Linked DNA regions of Homo sapiens: region 2 is linked to region 1. Evidence: promoter capture Hi-C in human tissues and cell types (Jung and others, 2019). All regions are on one chromosome and are shown on one strand. Each heading gives the region's core, a stretch centred on a gene start or on the middle of the fragment in contact. The rest is flanking DNA. Distances are from core to core; before and after follow the strand shown. Region 1 holds the start of APOL1 (apolipoprotein L1). Region 2 overlaps MYH9 (myosin heavy chain 9).

What was found. The method cuts DNA at HindIII sites, captures the fragments that hold promoters and counts their contacts. A contact is called where the count stands out against the background at its distance.
Region 2: a contact is called between a fragment that was not itself captured here and the fragment with the promoter of APOL1 in region 1, in 2 of the 25 tissues and cell types used here (aorta and pancreas).

Annotation. Positions count from the first base shown.
Region 1 is chr22:36,250,677-36,257,026 of GRCh38, forward strand. APOL1 (apolipoprotein L1) reads left to right here and starts at 2,457. Exons shown (of 6, transcript NM_003661.4): 1 at 2,457-2,543; 2 at 4,261-4,323. The coding sequence starts at 4,280. RefSeq lists enhancers at 2,510-2,569, 4,319-4,818. The HindIII fragment of the contact is 10,399 bases long and covers 690-6,350 here.
Region 2 is chr22:36,366,077-36,372,426 of GRCh38, forward strand. All of the region lies in intron 1 of MYH9 (myosin heavy chain 9), which reads right to left. Among named protein-coding and RNA genes, the nearest start is that of MYH9, 19 kb to the right of the region's middle. RefSeq lists a silencer at 2,588-2,882 and an enhancer at 3,195-3,284. The HindIII fragment of the contact is 6,874 bases long and covers 1-6,111 here.

The DNA of each region.
Region 1 (6,350 bases), core at 1,207-3,706:
CTCGGTGTCTGAGAGGTTTTGTCTGCAGCTCGTCCTGCTACAATAGAATTCAGACCAAACTCGTGACCAGAGACTCATTTGCTTCTACAGTGTTTTGTCCAAAAGATGTTGAAGAACGGCCAGGCGCAGTGGCTCACGCCTGTAATCCCAGCGCTTTCGGAGGCCGAGGCAGGCAGATCACAACGCCAAGAGATCGAGACCATGCTGGCCAAGATGGTGAAACGCTGTCTGTACTAAAAATACAAAAATTAGCTGGGCTTGGTGGTGCGTGCCTGTAGTCCCAGCTACTTGGGAGGCTGAGGCAGGAGAATCACTTGAACCCGGGAGGTGGAGGTTGCAGTGAGCCGAGATCACAACACTGCACTCCAGCCTGGCAACAGAGCAAGAATCTGTCAAAAAAAAAAAAAAAAAAAAAGTTGTTGAAGAACAAGGAGAAAACGTGAAAGGAAAATCAAATCTTGGGACCCCAAAACTCACTGGAAACAGTTAAGCTTAGAAACGGAGTCACTCCAAAACCTGCCTTTGTTTTTGCTTCTAAGCAGATATTTGCGAAGACAAAAGGCAACATGTTCCCCAGGTAGCCTCCTTCACAAATTGCTCACAAGGAAACTCCTTGTGGGTCCCAGCAGTTTTTACCCTGAGGCAGACTTTGTGTAATTTCATTGTGACAATGCAAATTAGCAACTTATCTTTACTGGTACATGATAAATAACAAGACTTCTGCCCACCCTCAGAAAAATGCACATATGCCTGCTTCCTCTACTCTATGTTCATTTTTATCTTATATAAAATGTAGACGAACTGTGCATGAGACGAATGAATAATTGACTGTTCCTCTACCCCCTCCTTTCATAGACAACCTGTGGATTCAAGGAGGGCTAATCAAAGCTTCACAAGAATGTGACCACTCACCTCATTACCTATCCTGTCTTTTTTCCTTTCCTCCTTCCACTCCTGCCTGATTTTACACATTTAAATACTGGAGGCCTCAAAACCCTCTGTGAAAAACGAGTGGACCCCAGAACCTCCTGTGACTTGTGTGACTTTTTCCTGGGTGCATCCTCAACCTTGGCAGAGTAAACATCTAAACTGACTGAGACGTGTCCCAGACCCTCTTTGGTTTACAAGTCTTGCCTCCTCCCTGAGTTGCTGGATGAAAGCAACGTCCTCTCTTCTTGCCTCAGTTTCCTCATCTGCAAAATCAGATCATAATCCTGGCCCATTGAGGGGATGATTATAAAACTCAATCAAATGGAGAAGCATTTGCAAATGGAATGTATTGCAAAGTGTATTGTGCAGTCCCTGTGTAATCACCATTCTCTTCCTGCCTCATAAGCTGGTGTGTGTGTGTGTATGGGTGGGGTGAGGTGGACACGATGCCCCCAGAGATGTTTGCTCAGGATGAAATAGGCCCCCATGGAAGGGTCAGGTTGGCTTCTGTGGTTTAGCTGCCTTTGAGGCCCTTCTGCCTGGGGCAAAGCACAAAAGTCCAATAGCAATCTGGTTGCATGACTTCCTAGTCATGGAAGTGTGGCTGAGCAGTGGTCTCTAGTCCCTCCACCCTGTGTGCCTCGGGAGTGGAACACGGGGCAGTGGCCTCTGCTGGGGAGGATGCTGGGGGATCTCTGAAAGGAGGCAATGCCTGATTTTGTCACTGAACGATGAGCATGATTTTTCCAGGCGGTGGAAGCAGGTGCTCCCGGCAGAAGACCCCATATAAGCAAATATCTAGAAGCCACAAGGCATGGCCTTCAACAAGAGCAGGCCTGGTGCGGTGGCTCATGCCAAGGTGGGAGGATCACTTGAGGCCTGGAGTTCAAGAGTAGCCCAGTCAATATAGTGAGGCACCATCTCTAATATAATTTTTTTAAAAATTAGCTGGGTGGTTGGCTGATACCTGTAGAACCAGCTACTCAGGAGGCTGAGGTGGGGGGATGGCTTAAGCCCAGGGGTTTGAAGCTGCTGTGCGCGATGACTGTGGCACTGCAATTCAGTCTTGGTGACAGACTGAGACCCTGTCTCAAAAACATAACCAAAATAACCCCAACGGCATTACAATAAATATACAATAAGCATCCACAAGGCATGTGTGGGAGACTGTGCTTATGCCGATGGCACGGGCAGGAGTAAGGCAGGCATCAGGGGAATGTGGATGCACGGGAGGATGGGGAGTAATCTGCAGGGTCCCATAGTATGTCAGTGGCAGGTCTTTCTCCTTGAGACCACAGCAGACCCCCAGCCCTGAGGATGCGAGGCAGGTGGGTTGGATGAGAGGGATCTGGATGTCTGGTCTCAGGCTGCTCCTCTAAGGGCAGCAGCAAGGAGGGTGGGGCTGGACTGAAGGTGGAGGGGAGCGTGTTTGCTGTGCTTGGTCATGAGCTGCTGGGAAGTTGTGACTTTCACTTTCCCTTTCGAATTCCTCGGTATATCTTGGGGACTGGAGGACCTGTCTGGTTATTATACAGACGCATAACTGGAGGTGGGATCCACACAGCTCAGAACAGCTGGATCTTGCTCAGTCTCTGCCAGGGGAAGATTCCTTGGTAAGTTGGGGACAGTTGACCTGCCTCCATCTTATTCTCACAGCTTTTGTAGATAAGCTGGGAGAGGTTAGGTGACTGGTTCAGATAGACAGGAAAGTAGCGGCAAAGCCTGGATTTGCACCCAGGCTTGAGTCTGATTGCTTCCCCTCTCCTGCTGGGCTCTTAAACTATAGAGGGTTGGGGAAACAGCTCAGATGGGTTCACAAAGCTCCCTGGGCTCAGCCCTGGTTTTGACTGCTGAGACACGACTGAGTGAACCCAGAAGGAAGGTTTGTGTTGGGGGTGCCCATCTCTTTGGGAAATTTGAAGGAACCAAAGAAGGTGGAGGAGAGGAGGTGACCCAGATCCCAGCCTGTTCTTATGGCCAGGCCACACCAAGGCTGGCCCCAGGGTGCTGCTGCTGAGGCCCAATGGGGGCAACAGAATTTTTTTTCAGGTACAAGGAGTTCAGAGGTCATCTCACCCACCCTGAGTCTGAGCACCAACTTGTGCCAGGCCCTGTGGGGAAACTGAGGCCCTGGGAGCGGAATGACTTGCCCAGGGTCCCGTGTCAGGAGGCTGAGCAGGTAGATCATAGGACTCCACGTCTCTGGCCCTCACCTCTGTCCCTCTGTTCAGACTTCTGGGGTGATGGAGAAGAAACAGGCTGTGCTGTGTCCCTAATGGGAAACGTGGCTGAGACAGGGGAGTGAGAAGGGTGCGTTGCAGAATGGTGCCTGTGGCATGATGCCAGCTTTGCAATCATGAGATTCAAAAGCCACACTGTGGAATTGTGAGTATAACTACAGGAGTGAGAGCTTAGATCTCTGTGTTCATAGAAGGAGAATCAAACCTGGAAACTTTTGGATTATTAAAATCAAACATTTTTGCTTCAATATTAGAGTCACAAGGGCAGATGTTGGCCTCCCCTCTGCCCTCCAAGAGCTGTGTGACTCTGGGAAATTCACCTCCCCTCCCAGCCTGAGTATTTTCCCCTGTAAAAAACCTGATAGAGCTGCCAAAAGTCCATGAAATCAGGGGGGTAATTTCTGTGAAATCTGAGTCATGGTCTTATTTGTTCTTCACCAAAAAGAGATGATGAAGCCTGTAACCCCAGTGCTGTGGGAGGCAGAGGCGGGAGGATGACTTGAGGCCAGGAGTTCAAGACAGCCTGGGAAACACAGGAGATGCTGTCTCTATGAAATCAAAAATTAACAAATTAGCCCAGCATGGTAGTGTGTACCTGTAGTCCCAGCTACTCAGAAGGTTGAAGGAGGCGGATCACTTGAGCCCAACAGATCTAGGCTGCAATGAGCTAGGATGGTGTCAAAGCCCTGCAGCCTGGGTGACAGAGCAAAACTGTTTATTAAAAACTAAACGAAAGGCCGGGCGCGGTGGCTCACGCCTGTAATCCCAGCACTTTGGGAGGCCAAGACAGGTGGTCACGAGGTCAGGATATCGAGACCATCCTGGCTAACATGGTGAAACCCTGTCTCTACTAAAAATACAAAAAAATTAGCCGGGTGTCGTGGCGGGCACCTGTAGTCCCAGCTACTCGGGAGGCTGAGGCAGGAGAATGGCGTGAACCCGGGAGGCAGAGCTTGTAGCGAGCCTAGATCGCCCCACTGCACTCCAGCCTGGGTGATAGAGCGAGACTCCATTTCAAAAAAAAAATGAAATGAAAATGGTGATTTCTCAGGAGGAGCACACTGTCTCAACCCCTCTTTTCCTGCTCAAGGAGGAGGCCCTGCAGCGACATGGAGGGAGCTGCTTTGCTGAGAGTCTCTGTCCTCTGCATCTGGTGAGCTTGGCTCAGAGCCCTGAGGCGGGAGGGAGGGCTCCCTGTCTGGGCTGCACAATTGGACTGGGCTTGGGCTGGGCCAGGGCCATCTGGGCTTCTTCTAGGAACCAAAGTCACTTCCCGGAATTGACCAACCGGCAGACTCGCCCAGGGAGGACCCGCTGTATCCTAGTTGAGGCTAACGGTCAATATCCGGCCTCAATATTCAGCAGAGGCTCCAGGTCAGGGTCTGAGCCAGGCCAACAATGACCAAGGAGGATGGGATCCAGGGTGCAGCTCCTCACAAGTGTCGGGGGAATCCGAGGCACCAGCTCTCTCTACCCTCCTGCTCCTCTGCTCTCTCCTGGTCCTCCTGTGTCCTCATGGCTCATGAGATGGTGTTGAGATGGCTCCCCTGGCCTAGGGGATCACACAGTGAACAAAGCAGGAAGAAGGCGAAGGGATGCCCCTCTCCTGTCACCCTTGTCCCTTACAGCAAGAAGGGCCCAGACGCCCCTCTGCATACTCCCCTGGTGAACTGCTGCCCAGGACTGGGTCCCCCTTTTACCCTTGCTGCATGGAGTCCCCAGAAGACAAACATCTGTGTGTCTGAACCCTGAGACAAAGGCAGGAAAGGGAAAGAGGGAGGCGAGTGGCTTTTGAGGAGGGGGCTTTAGTATGAGAGCTGGAGGATGGAACCCCATCAGGGGGCCCGGGAACCACTGAGCTGTTAAAATAAAGTCTGCAAACAAAGACCAGCTGCTGGAAGTGGGTGTGCCAGGGAGTGCGCAGAGACACACGGTGAGAAAAGAACAATGGTAATGCTTGGAGCCGCCCCTAACTGGGATGGGCCTGAAATGGTATTGTTATTATTTATAGTATCATTATTAGTCATTTTCATCTTATTTGTACCCTCCCTCTATCTCTCCTCTCCACCTTTTCCTAACATTCTATCACCAGTTTTATGTCTTCCATTAGCAACTTTGTAGCTGTAAATAATTTACTTACAACTTTCATATACCCTCAGTTGTACCCAGTATTTCTTAACTTCCCTCTTTAAAAAAATGATAATATTAATCCTCCTTCTCCTTCGTTCAGTGCTTCACATCCCAACTGCTACCTTTGTGCTTTAAATTTTGTACTAATTGGTGTTGATAACAAGTATATTTAGTTCTCATATTTATATGTTGTGTATATGTTTTGGTTTTTTTTTGTCTTAAACAAGAGACTACTGAGAGCCAGTAAGACTGAAAGAAAGGGCATCTTCATATACTGCTAGTTTGAGTGTGAATTGGTACAATTTGCCTGCAGTGTGGCTCTAGGTATAAAGCCTTTTGAGTTGTTGATAGCCTCTGACCTGCTCATTCTACTCCTACAAATATCTTAAGGAAATAATCTCAAATGTGGGCAAAGTTTTATGCGAAGAAGGATGTTCTTTGTAGCATAATTTATATGAGGAATTAGAAACACCCTGAGGTCCATCAGCTAGGGAAAGACAGCAGAGGGGACAGGGCAGCACCAGGAGGGCTTGGCAGCCACAGCAGGGGCTGGGCTGGCATCTGGCAAGATCCAGGTCTTTGTGGGACAAAGAATCTTAGAGAAGCAACGGGGACACAGGCTGTCCAGTGCAGCACCAGTGAATTCACCAAGATGAAGAGTTGAGCACAGAGTGTGAGACAAGGATTTGCAATGAGGAGTCATTTACCATGAGCGTGTATACATGACTCAATATTGTATATTTAAGGGAGTAGAGCACAGTCATTGAAAACATGGGGTTGAAGCAGAAGTCCTGGCTCTAGCACTATTGTAAAAACACTGGCAAGTTCCCTAACTTTTGTGGATTCCTCTGTGTTTGAATGGGAAAGTGGTACCCATCTCCTGGCCTGTGTGTGATCATCGAATGAGACACATGTAAGAGGCTCTGCACATCGCAGACATGCAATACACACTGGCTATCACCAGCTAGTTATCACACATGCTCCCAGGCCCTGGTCATTGTCAGAACCTTCCTCCCCATCTCTATTTCTGTGTATAGACTCTGTAGTTTC
Region 2 (6,350 bases), core at 1,425-3,924, 120 kb after region 1:
ATTCGGGAGGCTGAGGCAAAAGAATCACTTGAACCTGGGAGGCAGAATTTGCAGTGAGCCAAGATCCTGCCACTGCACTCCAGCCTGGGTGACAGAGCGAGACTCCATCTCAAAAATAAATAAATAAATAAACAAACAAACTGGTTGCCACTCACTTCACGACCCACCGATGAATCTCACTTGAAAGTTCTTGAAAAACACCACCGTGACTTATCTACGCTAGGAAGGAGAGGAACGATCTGCCTAAGATCACATAGCCAGGCCAAGCAGAAACTCAAGTCCAAAGCCAAAGGGAAACTCAGTGAGAGGTGGGGGGTCGGGGGGAGTGTCCCACTCCAGGCAAGTGAGACTCAGCTGTAGCAACCCAATCACCTGACACATTCATCTCGTGGTGTTTACATCATCTGATCCCGCCAGCCTTGGCAAAGTGAAGGGTCACGCGGCCCCTCCCCCTAAAAAAGGAGAGAGCCTCAGAGGCTCAGGGAGGCTAAGTGACTTGCCTAGGTACAGGGTTTCCCGGGAACATCCCTGCCGATGTGCAGGGGCAAGAGCACAAGAACGAAAGAGGAGCCCACCTTCCTCAGCATCCAAGGTAACAAGAGATCAAGTCTGGCATCAGAAACATCACCCCTCCCATCTCCAGGCCCAGCCCCACACTGAAGAGATACCCAGAAGTGACGGTGTTCTAAAGGCTTAAATACAAGAAGGATCATCAGGGAGGGGAAGGCCACTGTGCTGGAGCTACAGTGATGAGCCCCAGGAAAGTGATCACCCCTGGGGTGGCACAACTTAGACTAGAACAAACCCCCATCCTGATCCTAACGGCCCCCAGGCTGCATCCGTTATGCGACACTCACGTGTGCACACTCTACAAATGGAAAACCCAAAGCTTCTATTTGTCTAGGTCAGTGGTCAAGGACCCCTTTGAGAACTTGTGAGAGGTGGTGAACGCCTTGCATACCACGTTAGGGGGCTCGCAGAGACTCTGCAGTGCGGTCCATGGACTTTTAGGAGTCCCCTGGTCACAAGCTCAAAGGTAATGGGGCACTAGTGCGGCCTCCTTTTCTACCAAGGCAACATGAACAAAGACTTGAGGCAGGATCTCTTCCTTCGTCACCCTCCGGAGGGTTAAGCAGGATCTCGCTGAGGAAGCAAAGCTGTGGACAGAATAACCCAATAGCAAGAGTCCACGTGGCACGGGAGGGAGGCCGATTCTCCTGCACTGCTCTGGGGTGCCCTGGACTCCAGGAACAAGAAGCCCAAAACTGAAGGGTGAACGGTCTCTCCTCCCGACATTTCCATCCCTTGCTCCGGTTCTCAAATGAGCAAGCACACAGCCAGCCCTGGACATATAGAAGGCATGGCAGGCAATGCCAAGCTTTCCAGAGAAGCATCCCAGAGCCTCCTGCATTCCCCGGGGGAAATGATCAAATACAAGTGAGGATGAAATCCACTTATTTTGCACTTTACAGAAAAATTAACTTACCGCTCCTAGACTGGGTTGCGGCAGCACCCTTGTCTGAAAGGCTGGCCAACCCCAGTGTCCTTGAGCAGGCAGCCTGGCCGGCAGGATGACCTTACCAAGTCCTTCCCCAGAAACGTGACTACCGCTTACTTTACCACTCACCAAGCAGCACTCCTTTGCCCAGGCCACAGTCTGGTTTGAAAGTGGCCAAAGCTGTGGCTGCACATGAAAGAAGGAAGCAGCAGCGGCCCCTGCTCTAGAGAGCTGCCAGATTTGGGCCAATGCCATCCTGCCCTGGACAGAGCCCCAGGCCCCCTCCTCCCCTCCCCAGTCCAAGATGGGTGCATACAGACTTGCACACACACAGATATGCATGCACACAGACACGTGCAAAGATCTGTGCACACAGAGGTGCAGAGACATGCACACAGAGACCTGTGCAAACAGACATGCACATATACAAACACACACACACACATGCCTGCATACAGACACCCCAGAGGATGCTGGGATATGGCCGAAGTCAGGCCAACCTGGAGGTAAGCGCTGGATTCTCCTCACTGGTTCAGGAAATCCGGCAAATTATTTAAATGTCCTGAACCTCCCTTTCTTCATCTGTACAATGGGAATGAAAAGGCCCACCTCCCAGGACCCTGTTGGTAATTAAATAACGGCCACTTGCACTTTATTCTGAGTGCTTTTCACCAGGAATCTCACTTTAGCACACAGCACTCTTGTGAGGTAGATTCTAGTGGTATCCCGTTTTGCAGATGGGGAAACAAGGCCAGAAGGCTTACTTGCTGAAGGACACACAGGCACTAGCTGCCGGTGTCTGTACCCTGCAGGTCTCACTTGGGGCTCCAGGTCTTCCATCCCTAACCACTCTGCTCCACTGCCTCTAGGGGTGCAATGAGACAGCGAATGCACACAGAGCATCTGGCAAGGCGTCACATAGGACCTGGTCAACAGCAGTTGCTCCGTGATCAGGAAGGAGAAGCGCAGAGGTGGACCCGCAAGCTTTCCAGTAGCCCAGGGCCAAAGCACCAGTATCTGTCCTCCTGTCTGCTACCAATCCCCTCCAGCAGACTCACTTTTAACCCAATTTCTCTAAGATAACAGTGCTGGGAGGTGGAGGAGTGTTATCTCCCCACCCTTACCCCTCCCAGCTGTCTATATCGCCCTAAACAGCCAGGAATTTAATAAGCCTGGAGTTGTCTCTGACTCCCAACCACAACCAATTCGGAATGCCCCAGGTCCTGCAGCACAACAAAGGCTGCCCTGCAAAGCCCGGAAGAGCCTGCGAAGCCTGCCCCGTCCGCGATAGAGCATCACATTCTTCAGATTCTTGTGTAAAAGCCAGAAGTAAGGCAAGGGGGTGGGGGTGGGGGGGCTCTAATTTCAACCTAAGGGTCATTAAAGCCTGTGACCTGTATTAAAAGGGAAGAGACCCACCCCTCTGCAGCCCCTCTGTACCACGCTGGTCCTCCAAGGTGTATGATACTGCACAGGTCAGCACACCCAGGCCTCACAACCAGAAAGCGCCCTCAGCCTAGCGTCCCCACTTTGAGGACATCAAGCCTCCAGGACACACAGCTAGTCAATGGCAGGAGGGATTTTGCCAGACTGATCTTCAGCATCGTACTGGTGGCCACTATCTATTTCTTTCTGTCTAACATAGGTTTAAAGTTCTAGCCAGAGAGTCCACAGAACTAACCCCAGGTAGAGTTCAGGGGAAGACGTTGAGGTGCTGATGGAGACTCGTGAATTCCACAGTGCTCGGCAGCAAGTAATTAATCTCATGATGAGGCGTTTTTCATGAGCATTTGGCATTATATACCCACCTCCCCCTCGCCCTGGCAAAGGCAGGAAACAGTGGGCGGCAGGCCGGCTCTGGGCAGAAGGCGGGCTGAGAACAGCATGCTGGTGGGCTAGGAAGGTACGAGGGGGCGGTATCCATTCTTCAGAGGGAGGACAGCAAAAACCCAGGTTCCCCACAAGGACCAGGCTAACCAGACCTCACACCAGCCTGCCAGCCTTCACCTGCTGTCTACCCGACAGGTCTCTTAGGATGGAACAGGGAGGGCTGTAATTTACAGCTGGTGCCATAAAGCCAACTAGGTAACGCGACCCAGCAACCACCACTGTGAGGCTATGTGTGGAAGTCTACAAAAACCCAATTTCACAACTATTGTCCACATAGTGGTTGAAGTGGGATGAGAAGGCAGGAGAGGCGATGGAAGTAGATATGGAAAATAACTGGCCTGAAAATGAGGAGCTGGGAGAGGATTTTAGATCATTCACTTGCTACCTGGGGCTAGTCACGTAGGTTTTCTTGGACTCTCAACATTCCCAGCTACAAAATAGGAACACTAATACTGCCACCTTCATGGGATTGAGAGACTTTTGTTGCAATAACTTGAAAGTGACTTTAACCTTTGTAACGTGATATAAAAAATAGACTGAAATTTTTAAACAGATAAAAATATATCACCTGGCACTGTGCCAGATAAATTGTGGACAGATAAAACATATAAACAATAAAGCTATACTTTATTAGCATCAAAACCCTCTGTGGCATTTATTTTCCTCATTCCACAGATAAGGAAAACTGAGGCACAAAGAAAGATTGTATGACTCACTCAAGGTCAAAGGGCCTGCAGGTGGGAGAACCAAGATTAGGGCAGATGGTCTGAGTCCAGAGTGCCTGCCTATTTACCTAAGCACCAGACACACGCCCATCATGCTGGTGAGGCTCAGAAGCCAAAGAAATAAAGCCATCTACCCAGGACATCAGGGTCTGTGCCACCCACATTCTAGTATGAATATCCTCACCTGTTTCTCAAGCATGTATCAAGTGCTCACCATGGGCAAGGCACCATGCAAGGGTCCTGGCGACAAGGCCTCTAAAAGGGGAAGCAAGACCAGCACATAAGCCAGCACAGAGAATTGCTAAGACATGAAGCAGTCCGCTGGGAACAGTGGCATAAGCGAAGCATTTGGCAACGCACGCTCGAACCGCAGCCATCCAACACTCGGGCCAGTACCTGGGAGTTTAGGTTATAGTCCTGCACCAGCTTTCTACAACAGTTCCTCCTTACCGGTGTCAAAAGTGCTTATGACTTAACAGAGGGGAGGAGCCACCTCCAAGAACAATTGGCTCACAGGCACTGGGCAGAAGGCAGGGCAGCCTGGGAGCTGGGAGCAGCCAGGGCAGCCCCCACCCAGTTCTCAAGTGTTTTGATCAGAAGTAGAAGCCCGGAGCAGAGAGCAAAGTGGGACAAAAGGAAAAAGCGCTGGTGAACCAGGGGTGGGCAGTGGGGGGTGGGAAGAAGGGCAGGAGGGGCATTGATACTTATCGGGAGTCCATCATGAACTAGACACTGCTGAGAGCATTTCATACTTTAGCTACCCAGAGAACACTAACAGATAGTTCTATGAACCAGAATTTACAGATACAGAAACTGGAGCTCAAAGCAATTAAACAACCGGTAGAGCACCGTCCTGGAGGGCTCCTCCCCCAGATCTGAAGGCATCCACAGAATGTCCCTGGATCAGAGAACCCTCTGCTGACACAAACACACTCCCCTACTCCCTTCTTCCCTGTTACAGATTGAATTGTGTCCCTCCCAAAAATATCCATTATGTTGGAGCCCTAACTCCCAGTACCGCAGAATGTGACTGGTATTTGAGGACAGGGCCTTGGAAGAGGTAATTAAGTTAAAATGAGGTCCTTCGGGTAGGCCCTAATCCCATGGCTGGTGTCCTTATAAGACGAGGAAGAGACACCAGGCGTGTGCGTGCACAGAGCGAAGACCATGTGAGGACACAGTTGGCAGACGGCCATCTATGAGCCAAGGAGAGAGGGCTCAAAGGAAACCAAGCCTGTCCACACCTTGATCTTGCATTTCCAGCCTCCAGAACTGAGGGGATAAATGTCTGCTGCTTAACCACACAATCTTGTACTTCATCATAGCAGCCTGAGCAATTTTTTTTTATTCGTATTTTTATTTTGAGAAAGGGTTTCACTCTTGTTGCCCAGGCTGGAGTGCAATGGCGCCATCTCGGCTCACTGCAACCTCTGCCTCCCAGGTTCATGCGATTCTTCCTGCCTCAGCCTCCCAAGTAGCTGGGATTACAGGTGCCCACCACCATGCCTGGCTAATTTTTGTATTTTTAGTAGAGACGGTTTCACCATGTTGGCCTGGCTGGTCTCGAACTCCTGACCTCAGGTGATCCGCCCGCCTCGGCCTCCCAAAGTGCTGGGATTACAGGCGTAAGCCACCACACCCAGCTGCCTGAGCAATTTAGTACCTCTCAACATACCCCCTCATCTGCTTGGGCTCTCTACAGCTCTTACTGTCTTGACTTTCCTAGTAAGTATGTTTGATTATTGTTTGTTTCCGCCACTAGAGAGTAAACTGCAGGGACTTCAGTTGCCTTAATCAATGATGTGTCCCCAGAACCTAGAACAGTCTCTAGCAACTGATATGTATTTAATGAACAAATAAATTGAATGAAAATGAAATGTAAACCCAGCAGCTGCTTCTGAAGTCACCCACTCCCTGCCCCACACCCCACTTCCTGTTGCTTTCTCTATTCCTTGTATCCACCTCTCCTTCCTCCAATATAACAGCTACTAAATAATTTTAAATAGTATAAATTCAGACCACGTGCAGTGGCTCACATCTGTAATCCCAGCACTTTTGAAGGTCAAGGCAGGAGGATCACTTGAACCCAGGTGTTCAAGACCAGCCTGGGTAACATAGCAAGATCCCATCTCTACCAAAACATTTTAAAATCAGCCAGGTGTGGTGGTGTGCACCTGTAGTCACAGCTACTTGGGAGGCTGAGGTGGGAGGATCACTTGAGCCCAGGAGGTTGAGGC